2 separate regions of the Homo sapiens genome follow, and region 2 is linked to region 1. The links are contacts of gene promoters, found by promoter capture Hi-C in human tissues and cell types (Jung and others, 2019). All regions are on one chromosome and are shown on one strand. The core of a region is centred on a gene start or on the middle of the fragment in contact, and the rest is flanking DNA. Distances in the headings are between cores, read along the strand shown. Region 1 holds the start of PID1 (phosphotyrosine interaction domain containing 1). Region 2 overlaps PID1 (phosphotyrosine interaction domain containing 1).

Region 1 (6,673 bases), core at 3,786-6,285:
AACAGATGGGACTTGGATACAGGGCCCACACAATCTGAGACTAGGATGGAGGTGTGTATGAGGGAATTGTGAGAGCAGAAATAAAACCAAAAGAGGAAATAAGTTTTTATGTTAGACTATTAGGCTTCATTTTACTGCTAACCCTGATCAATTGGTTGTTAGGAAATGTTGAGAAGGGTGTGTTTAGCGGGAAAGACAGACACTTATTAGTGATGTTTTCTCTATCAGTTTTCTATTATTACCTAACAAACCACCCAAAACTTAAGGGATAAAACCCAACCTTGTTATGTACTCATGATTCTGTGGGTCAGCAGTTGGCAGGTCTCAGCTGGGTGGTTCTTCCACTGGTGGGACCCACATGGGATCACCCATGTGGCTGCTGTCGTGTAGTGGCTTGAGCTGGGTGTTATGAGATGACCTTACTCACATATCTGGCTGTGGGTGCTAACTCATGGTCTGACCTCCCTCTGTGTTGTTCTCATCTTGAGGAGTCTAGTCCAGGCTCCTTCATAGGATGACTTATGTTCCAAAAGGGTGAGAGCAGAAGCTGCAAAGTGTTTTGTGGCCCAAGCTCAGAAGTTCCACAGTGTCACATCTGCTGCATTTTATTGGTCAAGTATGCCACAAGTCCAGCACAGATTCAAGGAATGTGGACAGATTGCATCTCATGATGAGAGAAGCAGGCAAGTTACAGTGCAAATGGGCATGACTTCCTTGGGGAGGGGAGATTTTTGTGGGCATTTCTGAAAATAATCTATCAGGTGTCTAAGGTTTGTGAGGATATGAGGAGTCAAGAGTAGGAGAGTCACAACACACGAATGAGCCAGTCCTACCCTGTTAAGCGTCATCTTAACATCCCAATACATTCCTATCACTCTGTAGGGACGAAAGCCAGTGGTTCTGTCACTACTGGGAGGTTTAAATGGTCGAATGAATTTTCAGACTTTTTTATATTGCTCATTTATATACAGCTGTTTTGGTGATTTTGAAATAAGGTTAGTGATACCATAACAAGGGCTTTTTAATGATAATTCTGCTAAATACACAACCATAATAAATTTTGCTGTCATCTGCTTAAGTTAGAATTGTAAGTGGGCCAGGTATGGTGGCTCATGCCTGTAATCCTAGCGTTCTGGGAGGCCAAGGCAAGTGAATTACTTTAGCCCAGGGAGCCTGGGAAACACAGCAATACTCTATCTCCATAAATTTTTTTTTTAATTAGCTGGGTGTGGTGGCACAAACCTGTAGTCCCAGCTATTCAGGAGGCTGAGGTGGAAGGATTGCTTTGAGTCTGGGAGGTTGAGGTTGCAGTGAGCCGAGATCGCGCCACTGCACTCCAGCCTGGGCGATAGCGTGAGATCCCATCTCAAAAAAGAAAAAAGAATCGTAAGTGAGCTTGAATATCCTTTGTCATTTTTATTTGAGAATCTAAAGCAAATAATTGAAACCCACAAATATTCCAAATGGAAATAGTGTAACCACAAGAAGCATGGGCCGCTTTGTGAGAATTGGATCATTCCAATAATAAAAAGAGAAAGAAACATAATGGGGATGAAAACGAATGTTTCCCACACACCTACCATGTGTCAGGCATGCTGCACATATTAATTCATTCACTCCTCCCCAAAATCCTAAGTATTAAGTAATATTATCACCCATTTTATAGAAGAGAAATCTGAGGTTCAGCAAGGCAAATGACTTGTGAAAAGCTGATACCTAGGTAGACAGTTCGAAGGCTGGGATTCAACCTGAGTCTTCTGCTTGTCCTAGCTCCTTTCCAACATTTACTGAGATTGATAAATATTTTATACATATATTCAAATTATATACATTTTATCCTACTTTAAAAACCATAATTGTATCATTTTCAGCTGCAACACAACTTTATAATTATCCTTTTAAATGCTGCATAATATTTTAATATTTCTTTGATATGCTGGACCATACTTTCATTCACCATTACTCTGACTTGGACATTGAGGTTGCTTATGCTAGGGCTCAGAACCATGAACTAGATCAAATCTGGCTTAACACAATTTCTAGGGATGCTGTAATTATTTTTCTGAACCAAATGTGTGAATAACGCATCTGTGCCTTGTCAAGCTTTTTTGATTTCTGTCATTTGCCTTCAAATGGTATTTATTGACAAGATTAGACCTGTTTCGGTAATTGCAGGAGACTAAGTACATGAAATTAGGCACACATTTACATGCCTAATATTTCTACTCATTGCACCAAAACACCTTCTGCTCATTTTAAGGGTGGTTTCTTGCTCAGAACAAACCTGTTTACATCGTAAGGCAGCATTTTCAGATTCACCAGGAAGGATGAGGTTCCAATGTCACAGAACAGAGCTGGGAGACATTGGCATGCAGGTCTCATCTCTAGCCAGCAGATGTCTCTATTTCATTCACCCTTCATTGCAGGCTCCTCCTGAATGGGAAGACTTGGGAGCAAAATCTATGAGTGGGAGGTTGTCCCATCCTTTTGTCACCTCCCACAAGCCTGCAATTGCCCCTCCTCCACCCCCTCCCCTAGCTTCCTGATTCGTGGCATAAAGGTAATTGAAACAGGAGTGCCATTTGAGTTTAAATACATTCTTTACTTTACCAAATCTGTTTGCAAAGTGGGAACGGTAACTGAAAGCAATCTTTACAGAGCCAAAGCTTTTTCTCTTTAAATAGCACCATACTCCGTACTAAAAGCTGTATTACTGAGTCATAACAATTAATTACGTTTGGAGGTGAGAAGACAGGATTTAACGCTCTAATGCGATTTGAATTTAGGCCGTTAACTCATTCCACTGCTATTTAAAACAAAATCACTTTTCCACGGAAGCATCTGCAAGCAAGGATGGTTTCAGAGCTTAAGTCTGAAGACATCCCTGGCAACTGAATATTCCTGTTTTAGCTTCCTGGGGGGGTTGGGGGGTGGGGTTTATATGCATGTCTGGATTTTCTAGATTTTTGTAATGAATTGCATTTCTTTCTACTTTGGGATTTGATAAAAGAGAACTGGGGGCTGGGAAGGTCATAAGGAATTTTGTAGGTGTGGAGGTGTGCAGGAGGAGTTACCGGAAAAGCAAACAGAGACCATATCACCAAGCATGTGAGGCACATGTCTGTGCGGGCTGACAGGCAAACACCTCATGAAAAGAGATTTATTAATAAGTTCAGAACAAGTAGCAGGAACTGGAGAAGGAGCTGAGAAGGTTCAGGTGGTTATCAGGCAGGAGTGGGAGGGTCCTGTGGATATCCAGGGAGACAGAGACAAGCTCTTCAGAGGCAGCTCTGTGGCTTTGCCAGAGGCTCCTAGAGGCACTGAGGGTCCTGGGCTTGCCAAGGCTGGTGGCACCAACATAGCAACCGCAGGGTCCAGAAGGATCTGCCTGGAATCCTGGATCTGAATCGCCATTGTAACTCCCCACAGTGTGACTCTGTGAACCCTGTGCTCCCCAAGCCTTGGGAGATAGGGGCTTCTGTCCCACGGAGAGTTGCTGCGAGGGTCCGATGAGCTGAGGGTTAGATTCTGGAGTGGTTCCATATCTGGAAATCATTGTAGTCATGCAGAACAAGGAAAATGGACAGATCCTCCTTCCAGACATGGAGTGTGGATTTTGACATTGCATGAGTAGCTCACGGCCCAAGCTGTGCAGCTGTCTCAGTATGAAATGCCTCTCTTTCACACCCCTCTGCTCTCAGGACCCTGCCTTGTAGGAGCCTAGGGCTCCCCACAAACATTGTGTTCTCTCTGCTCCTCTCTTTGGTCATTCTATGTCCTGAGTTCTTCCCACCATGTTCTCCTCTCCCACTCTTCATCAGCTCGAGAATCAGCTTAGTATCCCTGACTTGCCAAGTGCCTTTAACCCCCAGCCCTAGACGGATGCTCTTTCCACTGGGTTTCCATGGTCAGTTAGAGGCGCAGGGCCACATCTCCTGCCCTGAAGTCATCTGACTGTGCACTCTCTAAGCCACTCACTGGCTGTGTGACCTGGACAAGTGACCTAAACCTTATAAGCCTCATTTGTTTGATCCACATGGTGAAAATATTAATAGTTATTTTGCCGAGTTGTCAAGAGAATGGGAAGGGCTGGCCTGTTTAGGACAGGAAGTCATCTCATGGTGGCCGGCACTAGCCGGGGAGCCTCCAGGCCTGCGAGCCCAGAGCGGCTTTCCCTTGGGTTCTGAGAGCCTCCTGCTGCACCTGGCAGATCTCAGGATGAGTTAGTGATTCGGGAGTCTGCATGGCCCTCCTCACCCCTGTATAGGTTAGGAGTCGAGTCCTCTCCCCATCATGAAGCATGGCCTCTTCGTGGCCAATCCCTCTCATCTCTCAGGTCTTACTCCAGGCATTCCCCAGGGCCCTTGTCTAAGAAGCTCTCCTCTCCCCTTCTTCCCACATCTGCCCTGTTTTATCACCACCCGATATAGCACCGGCTTGTTGATGTGTTTGCTCAGTCACGACTCTCTCTCCAAAGCAGAAGGTAAGCTCCAGAGAGAAGGAACATTCTCTTGTCTTCTATTCTGCGTCGCTGCATCCTCAGAACCCAGCATAGGGGCTGGAGCCTAATAGATGCTCAGTTAACTGGAGTGGGAAGAATGAATGGAAGTGTCTCCCTAGCACAGCGCCAGGCACAGCACAGGCACTTCAGAGATGCCTGTTATATGGAAACCCGGGACCCCCGGGGCTACGGTTTCCTTATTTTAGGAATTTCCCCCACCCCCGCCACCCCCGACATCCCCGCTGCCCCCACCACCCCCGGCTCCAGGCCCTTCCCCCCTCAGCCAGTCTGTCCCTTTTCCCAGACCCCAACCCAATGGGGGCTTCCTGCAGGGAAGGGCCGGCTGTTCTAGCCTCCCCATTCACCCCTCACTAGGATTTAGAGTCGGCCGCGCTGCACTCCCGCCCCGCGCGGCCCCTGGGCGCCCGCCCCGGGCATGCTCAGAGCGCGCAGGTCCGGGCGGCGGCGGCGGGGGAGGAGGGAGCGGCCGCCCCCGCCGCCGCCGCGCGCTCGCCGGGCCCGGGCGGAGCTGCGCAGTCCTCTCGCAGCTGCGCCAGGACAGCCGGCGCGCGGCCGTGCCCACAAGTTGCCGGCAGCTGAGCGCCGCGCCTCCTCCTGCTCGCAGCCCCCTACGCCCACCCGGCGGCGGTGGCCAGCGCCAGGACGCACATCCCGCGGACACCGACCCCAGATGTAAAGCGGGACCCCAGCCCCTCGCCCCCCGGCGCGATCGACAGTCTCGCCAGCGTCTCCTCTGCCAAAACCCAGGGCTGGAAGATGTGGCAGCCGGCCACGGAGCGCCTGCAGGTAAGGGGCACCCGGGAGCCGGGGGCCAGCCTGGAGGAGGAGGTGCCCGGGCAGAGGAACCTAGTTTTTGCTTCTGCCTACTTTAGGGGATTTGCCCAAAACCATCTTGTAAGACGCATCGATGGCAACATGATGCTGTCGGTTTACCCAGCGCCAGGAACCCGGCAGGGGTATGGGGATGATGAAATTGATAAACGCACGGGTTCAGGCGTTACAACTTTTGGCTTGGAGGTGCTTGTGTGCGTGTTGGTTGGTACATATAAGGTTGGACTTTCTGACTGGCAATTTAGATTGCATTCCACTGACACAATGCAGTGGTCTGGGGTTAGGATTTTTGAAGCCAGATTTTTTTTTTTTTTTTTTTTTTTTTGTGGTCACCAGGAAAGACAGAACAAGTGATATGTGAAAGCATCCATTTGCCAATATAATGTGGAAATATCAAGCTTGGTTTGGCTTGGTCATGGTATGCTACTTATTTTATTTTTCCCTATTCATTGGTTCTCTCCCTTTATCTTCCTTAAACCCAAGCTCCTTCAGATATTTAAGAATCAAAAGTAGGTTCAGCCAGGAATATTTATGTCCTGGGTTATCCCATCAAAAGTTTTTTACTGCTGTCTCCTGAAATGCCAGACTGCCTTGAATTGGATTCTGGAAGCTGGGGATTTGCGGGAGGCGATTGAAGAGAAAGAGGGACCTTTCCCAGAAGAACTCCTTCAGTGACACGTTGGGCCTTGGGATTGCCCTGGTTGCAAGGTTTGAGGACTGCCTTTTGCTGGCAAATATTGTCAAGAGTCACGGCAGCTACTCTGCCAGATAAAATCCACTGAATCCTGCAGTTAAACTTTTGGCAAGCTAGGAGCCACATTGTTTCGTAGTAAACTTTGAAGACGTGTTTAACTGGTAAAATACAGCACCATTGGAGGCTGAGTGCATCTGAAGACTTAGGACAATGAGGCCAGGCCCTGGCTAGGTTGGAGGCTTCTCAATGAACATTTACAGCCCCAAGCACAGTTTCTCAGATGCAGGGAGAGGCTAACCTTTGTCTAGGAGTCCTCATACAGAGGAACAACCCGCAGAGGGCATTGCATTTAGCAGAAACAGATGCCCCACAGCTCCTTTCCAAAGCTCCCTGGGCCATGATTTGCGGGGAGTGTGTTCAATTTATCAGAGCCTGAGACACCAGACCAGTTCCCCAGGGTCTCAAGTAGAATAAACAAGAAAACCTGCATTTAGCCTTGCAGATGAGGAGGTGGATGACCAACCTCCTAACCCCCTCCTTGTCTTACTAAGAGAATATCAGCACTGGGCTCTGAATGACTGATAGAAGGTGATGTAAATATATTTTGGCAGTGGCACCAGATACCA
Region 2 (6,684 bases), core at 2,826-5,325, 190 kb after region 1:
CCTGGTTTCTAACAGCATAGATTGGTGTTGCCTGTTTTTGAACTACATGTCACTGGAATCCCACAAGTACTCTTTGTTGTCTGGTTTGTTTTATTGAACATCATGTCCTTAGCAGTGACTCTTAAAAATATGCTGAGTTCCACAGCACCTGATTTGAAAAATGTATGCGTGCTCTAGACCACAATAGATCTTTTTTTAATAGTCAGTATCTGCTGTGATAACCATTATTATGATTTTTAACTCTTCCCACAGGGTAAAAAAAAATTAATGTAATTTGATAAGCAGTTACCCAGTGAATTTGATCAACATTGAGCACAATGTGTATGCCTCAGACTTTGAATCCTTGAATGCAGCAGCTGTCTTCTTTACTTAATCTGATGTTATTTCCAGTTATTTGAAAAGCTAAAACGTAGTATTCATTCTGACAGCAGTTTGTGGTTGGAAAATGGAAGGTAGTCACTGACTGCCTTCTCAGTGTGTGTGTGTGTGTGTGTGTGTGTGTACACACGTGTGCAAGCATACTTAACTGTGTTGTGATGGTGAGAATATTATGTGCATGCGGATGCTCTGCAAATATGAAGCATGCTATACTGAAAGACGGCATTGCTGCTCACAGTTGTAAGCTTTACAAAAATTATGTATAAATCGCTGTCTCTGTCTTACCACTCATGCCAGGAGACTTTAATTGACATATTTAGCTTATGTGATCTTTTTCTAGTTGTTACTCCACCCTCTGTCTCACTGCCATCAAGCCTTCAGTTAAGTTTTTCACGTAAGTAAAATGAAAGAGCCGCCTAATGTTTGGATGCATCAGCAATTATATGATTTAAGTTTACTCTCTCCTTCTTTTACTTTTATAAAACCTTTAGAAATGCAGAAGGTCCTGACTTAAGATGGTTTGACTTATGATTTTTTGACTTTATGGTGATGCAAAAGCAATATGGCTTCAGTAGAAACTGTCCCTTGGGTACCCATACAAGCATTTTGTTTTTCACTTTCTGTATAGTATTCAATAAATTACATGAGATATGCAGCAGTTTATTATAAAGCAGGCCTTGTGTCAAATGATTTTGCTCAATTGTAGGCTAATGTAAGTGTTCTGAGCGTGTTTACATTAGACTAGGCTAAGTTACGCTGTCCAGTAGGTTAGATGTATTTAATACATTTTTGATGTAATGATATTTTCACCTTTCAATGGGTTTATTGGAATGTAACCGCATCATAAGTTGAGGAGCTTCTGTAATAGAAATTTAAGCTAATGGAAAATGCAAATAAGAAATCACCCAAAACTAATTATATTTTAAAAATAAAGATATATTGCTCTTTCCATGTTCATTACAAGTTTGGAATAGGTCCTGAATTTAAATATAATTAGGCAGCGCAAAATAGGGTATGTATTACAGGGTCAATAAAATATTGACTTTTAAGGAAATCCAGTCGCCTTATTTTAAATGTTGTTAATCTGAATATAATCTTAATTTTTTATAATAATAGACAGATTTCCCCTCAACTGATTTTTCAGAAGCTTTAATCAGCTGTCTCTTGAATGCTTCCTCATGCTCCCAGCAGTTTCAAGTTTGTCTCATTTATAGTATCATGTGGATTAATATTATTTGGTATGATGCAGATCAGCTGAAATTGAGTTGAATTTTGTGGTCTGATGAACCATATACTTAATTGACTAGTTGAAGGACAAAGGGCATACTTGATTGATGGAATCTACTTTTCTATTTATGTAACAGGTTACTTGTGTTGTCAGGTATCACAAGTATATGTCATATATATTTAAGCAATGTTTCTTCATGGGTATCTTCTAACTACCATTTTGACTGATGTTTCTACAATAGTCATCAAATGATCCTAAAGCTTCTAAAATGATTCAGAACCTGAATTTCACAATTAATTAGCCAGCCAGCTCTCTCAAAATTCAATTCAATCCAACACAGCTTTATTGAACACCTTTTGAATACAAGGCATGGGATTGATGGTAAAATGCAAAGGTAAATGAAATGACTTTCCTGACTTGAAAGAGTCATGTTCTTACGGAGGTCAGAAGACTCTAGAATCAATTGATGAGATCTTTCATGGACTTCTTGAAAGACCAAGGGAGTCACATCAAATTGTGTGATTAAGTTTCCCTCATTTGCATGAAGACAATACCTGTACTTGCTCTTTTTTTTTTTTTTTTTACAAGTATATGTAGTATGAGGATGAGAGAGATGTGTATGCAATGGGTTTATCATTGTTAAGCTATCTCTATAATTAAAATAATTGTAATAAAATAGTTGCAATTGTCATAGTTTATTTAAAGAAAAAATATGGTGCATTATCTTGTATCATTTTCCTAGTTAGAAAGCCTTGTCTTCAGCTCTTTAAAGAGGGAGGTGTTCAGAATCCAGAAACGATAAGGAGAAAGGAAGGAAGAAGAAAACATAGTTTTAAAAAGAGGTGACTCGATTTTCTACTGAAATGAACTATCTCCTTTGAACTACTAAGGAAAATAAAGCAGTATTTTTCTTAGGCCGTATCCTAACTGCTTGCTCGCTGTGAATTATGAAGCTTTAAAGCAGTAAAGAGAAATGTGTGCTTTTCTCAAGTGACTAGAGAGTGAATGCTGTGCATTGTTTCTCACATGTGATGTTAAGTTAGAGCTTGCTTCACAGACTCCACTCGCCCTTTGTTCTTGAAAAGTCTTGCCATCTTGGCTGTGAGTCTGGTGAACCCTTTTTTAATGGTCATACAACAAATACTGTAGTGGTTGAAAGTTGGCTGCTTTCGCATTGCTTCAGAGTCTGTGTCATCACATTTGTTATTAATCAGGAACATAATTATATTTGAAGCATAGAAAAGAAACCATTTATCTTGGCAGGATGGGATGAGACAGTCGCAATTCATATGCCTGTAAACCCACCAGCTAAGTCAAATCACTATTGCCAGCTCAATCGTTTTAGGTTAACCTGGAGGCGAAACAGAGCTGTCAACACCATTACCAGTTAGAAAGAAAAGACTTTTCCTGCCACTTATTGGCATAAGGAACAATTAAAGTATCCCCATGCATATGCCAAGAGAAAATTTCCACTTTGTATGAAGTGGTGGCCATGTAGGCAATGAATAAAAATAATGATAATAAATAATACAGGAGGTGGCCAATAGCAAGAAGACTTGTATCCTTTGGCTTTGTGTCTGACCTTGTCACCTCTCTATCCCTGAAATAGCCAGTGGCATGACCAGGAAAGCCAGAGTACCTCCTCGTGTATAGTTCTAGTTTAGAGCTTGCTTGAAGCAACCACAGTAATAAACACTGTGTCAGCCAGCAGAATGTAACTATTTAAAGGGTCCGATTGGCAGTGAGCTGTCTCAAGTGTCTTCTGTTTATAATCATTCACTGAAGTAAATGTTTCCTATTATATAGACAGCATGTGGTAGGTTACTGAACTTCACTGCCTGGTTAAAGTAACGCAAAGAATGTAAAAATCTGGGAGCCATTGAACTCCTTAGCTACCTCTTCAATATTTCAGTCAACCTTTACATCTTTCTGTCATGAGGTTGCCCCTGTGGCAGCTCTCTTGTGGCGTTGGCTGTTTTGAGCTATTGCACGTGACCAAGGGTGTTATAATCTGAATTGCCTTTGACAGCTTGCCAAGGTTGTACTTGGAATAAACATGTTAGCTCTGAACAGGTAACCCTTGAGTCCCAAGAGCTTCCCTGGGTCAATTTCACTCTCATCAAACCAAGAGATCTTTTCATAATGGAATTATTTCTGACACTCACTACAGAATGAGAATACACCCATATATTTTCACTGCTTAACTGAAGAGGTGGTTCTGAATCAAGTGTTTGTTTGCTGGTGTCATCCTTTTCAGTTATTTCTCAAATAACAGATGTTTTTCTCTTGCCTCAAGTTCTTTAGTGTCATACTAGTGTTTATGGCTAATATTGATTCAAAATTTGGGCAGAGGCTCCTTTTCCCTGTCTAATTTAGCATCCTATTTGCTAGTAACATTAGATCTTAAAAAAAATTCTTTTAATGTTTTGCCTGACATGGGCAGTGATGAATTGTAGCACGGCCAAGTAGTTTTTTATGCCCTTGCACTCTTGGCCTAGGTGTGCTGGGCAGTCCATTACTTGGTATACATTAGCCACTCCAGCACATACTGGATTGAATGAATGAATGATCAACTGAATAGATGGAGTTATAATATTTATGTTACTGGAAAATAAGGTGTTCAGTTGGGCCATGGAAAGAAATGGGTTCTCTGAACAGCAGGGAAAAGATTGTTCCTACAATCTCTTGGGTGCCTTTCGCAAATTCATCATTCTTCAATGTGCTTTTTTTTTCTTTATAGTTTTCCTTAATGTACAATTCCCCTGCTTTATGAAATCACATTAGGATGGAAGCATTTATTTAGTTTTGAGACCTTTATGTCCGTCAATTTATGGGCATCAATTTAATAAGTTTTTGGAGGTGCATCCCTTTCCTATTGCCACTATAACAAATTAATGCAAACTTTTTCAGCTTAAAATGACACTCATTGGTTATCTCACAGTCCTATAGGTCAGAAGTTCTGGTGGGCTTTACTGGGTCTTCTGCTTAGGGCCTTAAAAATCTGAAATCTAGATGTTGGCTGAGCTGTATTCTCTTATGGAAGATGTGAAGAAGAATGTACTTCAAAATCATTCAGATCTTTGGCAGAGTTGTTTCTTGTGGTTGTAGGACTGAGATCCTTGTTTCATCACTGGCTGTTAGCCAGGAGCCACTCTCTGCTCTAAAGGCCAGCTGCATCCCTTTTCACATGACTCCATCCATCCTCAAACCAGCAATAGTGTTGGAGTCCTTTTCACACTTCCAGTCTCTCTGGCTTCCCCCTTTGTTACAGCAAGAGAAAATTTTCGGTTTTTAAAAACAAAATTCATATGATTAAACCCACTTGCGTCATCTCCTTTTCTTAAGGTCAACTGATTAGTAACCTTAATGACACTGGCAACTCTCTTTCACTGTGTGATATAACATAATCACTGGAGTAACACCATGGGGTAAAGGTCAGTGAGTCCACCTTAGAATTAGAATTCTGCCTATCACAGAAGGTGGGAGAGAAGAAATACCAAATTATGGTACAGCCATGTTTGTTTGTTTTTAACTGACTGGTGGTGGTGTGCATTTCTCCATGCAACATTATACCTTCTTTTTGGCATCATAGTCCATGTTGGAGCCTCGTCCTCTTCCAGAGTCTGAAGGAGGCTCTGAATCATTGATAAACTTGAGCAGTTACTCTGAGTATCATGGTGACATCTCAAGAACACCTGATCTTGACTCTGTGGCAGCTCTGGGCTTGAAAATACAATTTTGAGACATATTAAAGAATACTGAGGTTTTATGCACATTTTCTGTTAGGTTAAGGTTATAATTTGTGTTTCACTCTCTTGACTTAAGTGTTGCTGAGACTAAACAGTTTCTCTGAAAAGCCAGCTGGAAGTACTAGACTGAGAATTCTTCATGATGCAGTTTGCTCTTCTTGAACTCCCCTGACTTTGAGAATTCTGTGGTACTTTCCTGAGCTATTTGGCAAATTCTTCTGCTTTTAGCTGCACTTCCCAGTAAATGCCAACATGCATCATATTCTGCAAACACTATTAACTTTTGTTTGTCCAGCATTTAACTCTTTGTGGCATGCACTCCTTGGCTTCCCTTGATGATATAGTCACCTTTAATGGAAGGAACTAAAGCAGCTTTATAAAGCAGGAAGTCATGTTTTGTAACTCAGAACAAGGAAGCTTAGAGCGTCTCATATTGCACCTTCTCTTTGCTCCAGTGGTTTCATCATGCTGCTGCCAAATGGTTCTTCTAAAATGCCATCTGCATCAGCATGCCATTCCTCTCCCAAGCCCTTCAGTGGCTCTCTGCTGGCTGCTAAATCAGCTTGAAGCATCCTGGCCAAATTTATTTCTCCTTTCATTAAAGTTTCTGCTATAGACAGGTTACATCTCAATATTTTTCTCTTGAGTCACATTTTTGAACCTACTATATACCTAAGCACTGTACATTTTATGTTGCATTATCATTATGTCTTTAGATATTTGGTCTTCCCTGCAAGAGTCCAAGCTTCTTAAGCATAGTAATCATGTTTTAACTACCTTGGTAGCTTCAGGATCCTGTAGAGGTCTGCTGAGTGGTAAGTTTTCAGAAAACAATGGTTAAATGTATTTGAATGTATGTATCAACAATGTAAACCTAAATAATAAACAGGGAGAGGCTCTCTAAAAGAAAATGATATTTATTCAGGAGTAGGCATTGCAATGGGAATATGTGTAACATAGTAAGCTATGTATGTATTCGGGGAGGTGAAGGAAAGCAGAGGTTTTTAGAGAAAAAATGAGGAAGATTACATTATTGTTTGAGATAATTATCCTTTGCCACTAGCATCCAGCAATAACAAGGGTGGTTCCAGTTTGAGGCTGGACAGGAAGGTACTGGGAAGATGTCCTCACTGAAGTATTTTGTTTAAGGTTGAGATGGCTTTTATGTGAGGTTGTGTTTTCTACAGTCTTTTATGATAGTTCTTGTTATCAGGCATTCGTGCATGAGAACCTTCTCATGGCCTTCCCTAGCTCTATTTGTTAGAGGTTTTCTTGTTTGTTTTAAACATATGTGACTGCATTTTGATTTGGGCAACATTCACAACAGTT

The links. Contacts are between HindIII fragments. The study calls those that stand out against the background at their distance.
Region 2: a fragment that was not itself captured here is called in contact with the fragment with the promoter of PID1 in region 1 in 2 of the 25 tissues and cell types used here (dorsolateral prefrontal cortex and stomach).

What each region holds. Positions count from the first base shown.
Region 1 is chr2:229,269,649-229,276,321 of GRCh38, reverse strand. PID1 (phosphotyrosine interaction domain containing 1) reads left to right here and starts at 5,035. Exons shown (of 3, transcript NM_001100818.2): 1 at 5,035-5,308. The coding sequence starts at 5,279. The HindIII fragment of the contact is 5,052 bases long and covers 2,386-6,673 here.
Region 2 is chr2:229,080,729-229,087,412 of GRCh38, reverse strand. All of the region lies in intron 2 of PID1 (phosphotyrosine interaction domain containing 1), which reads left to right. Among named protein-coding and RNA genes, the nearest start is that of PID1, 190 kb to the left of the region's middle. The HindIII fragment of the contact is 3,723 bases long and covers 2,214-5,936 here.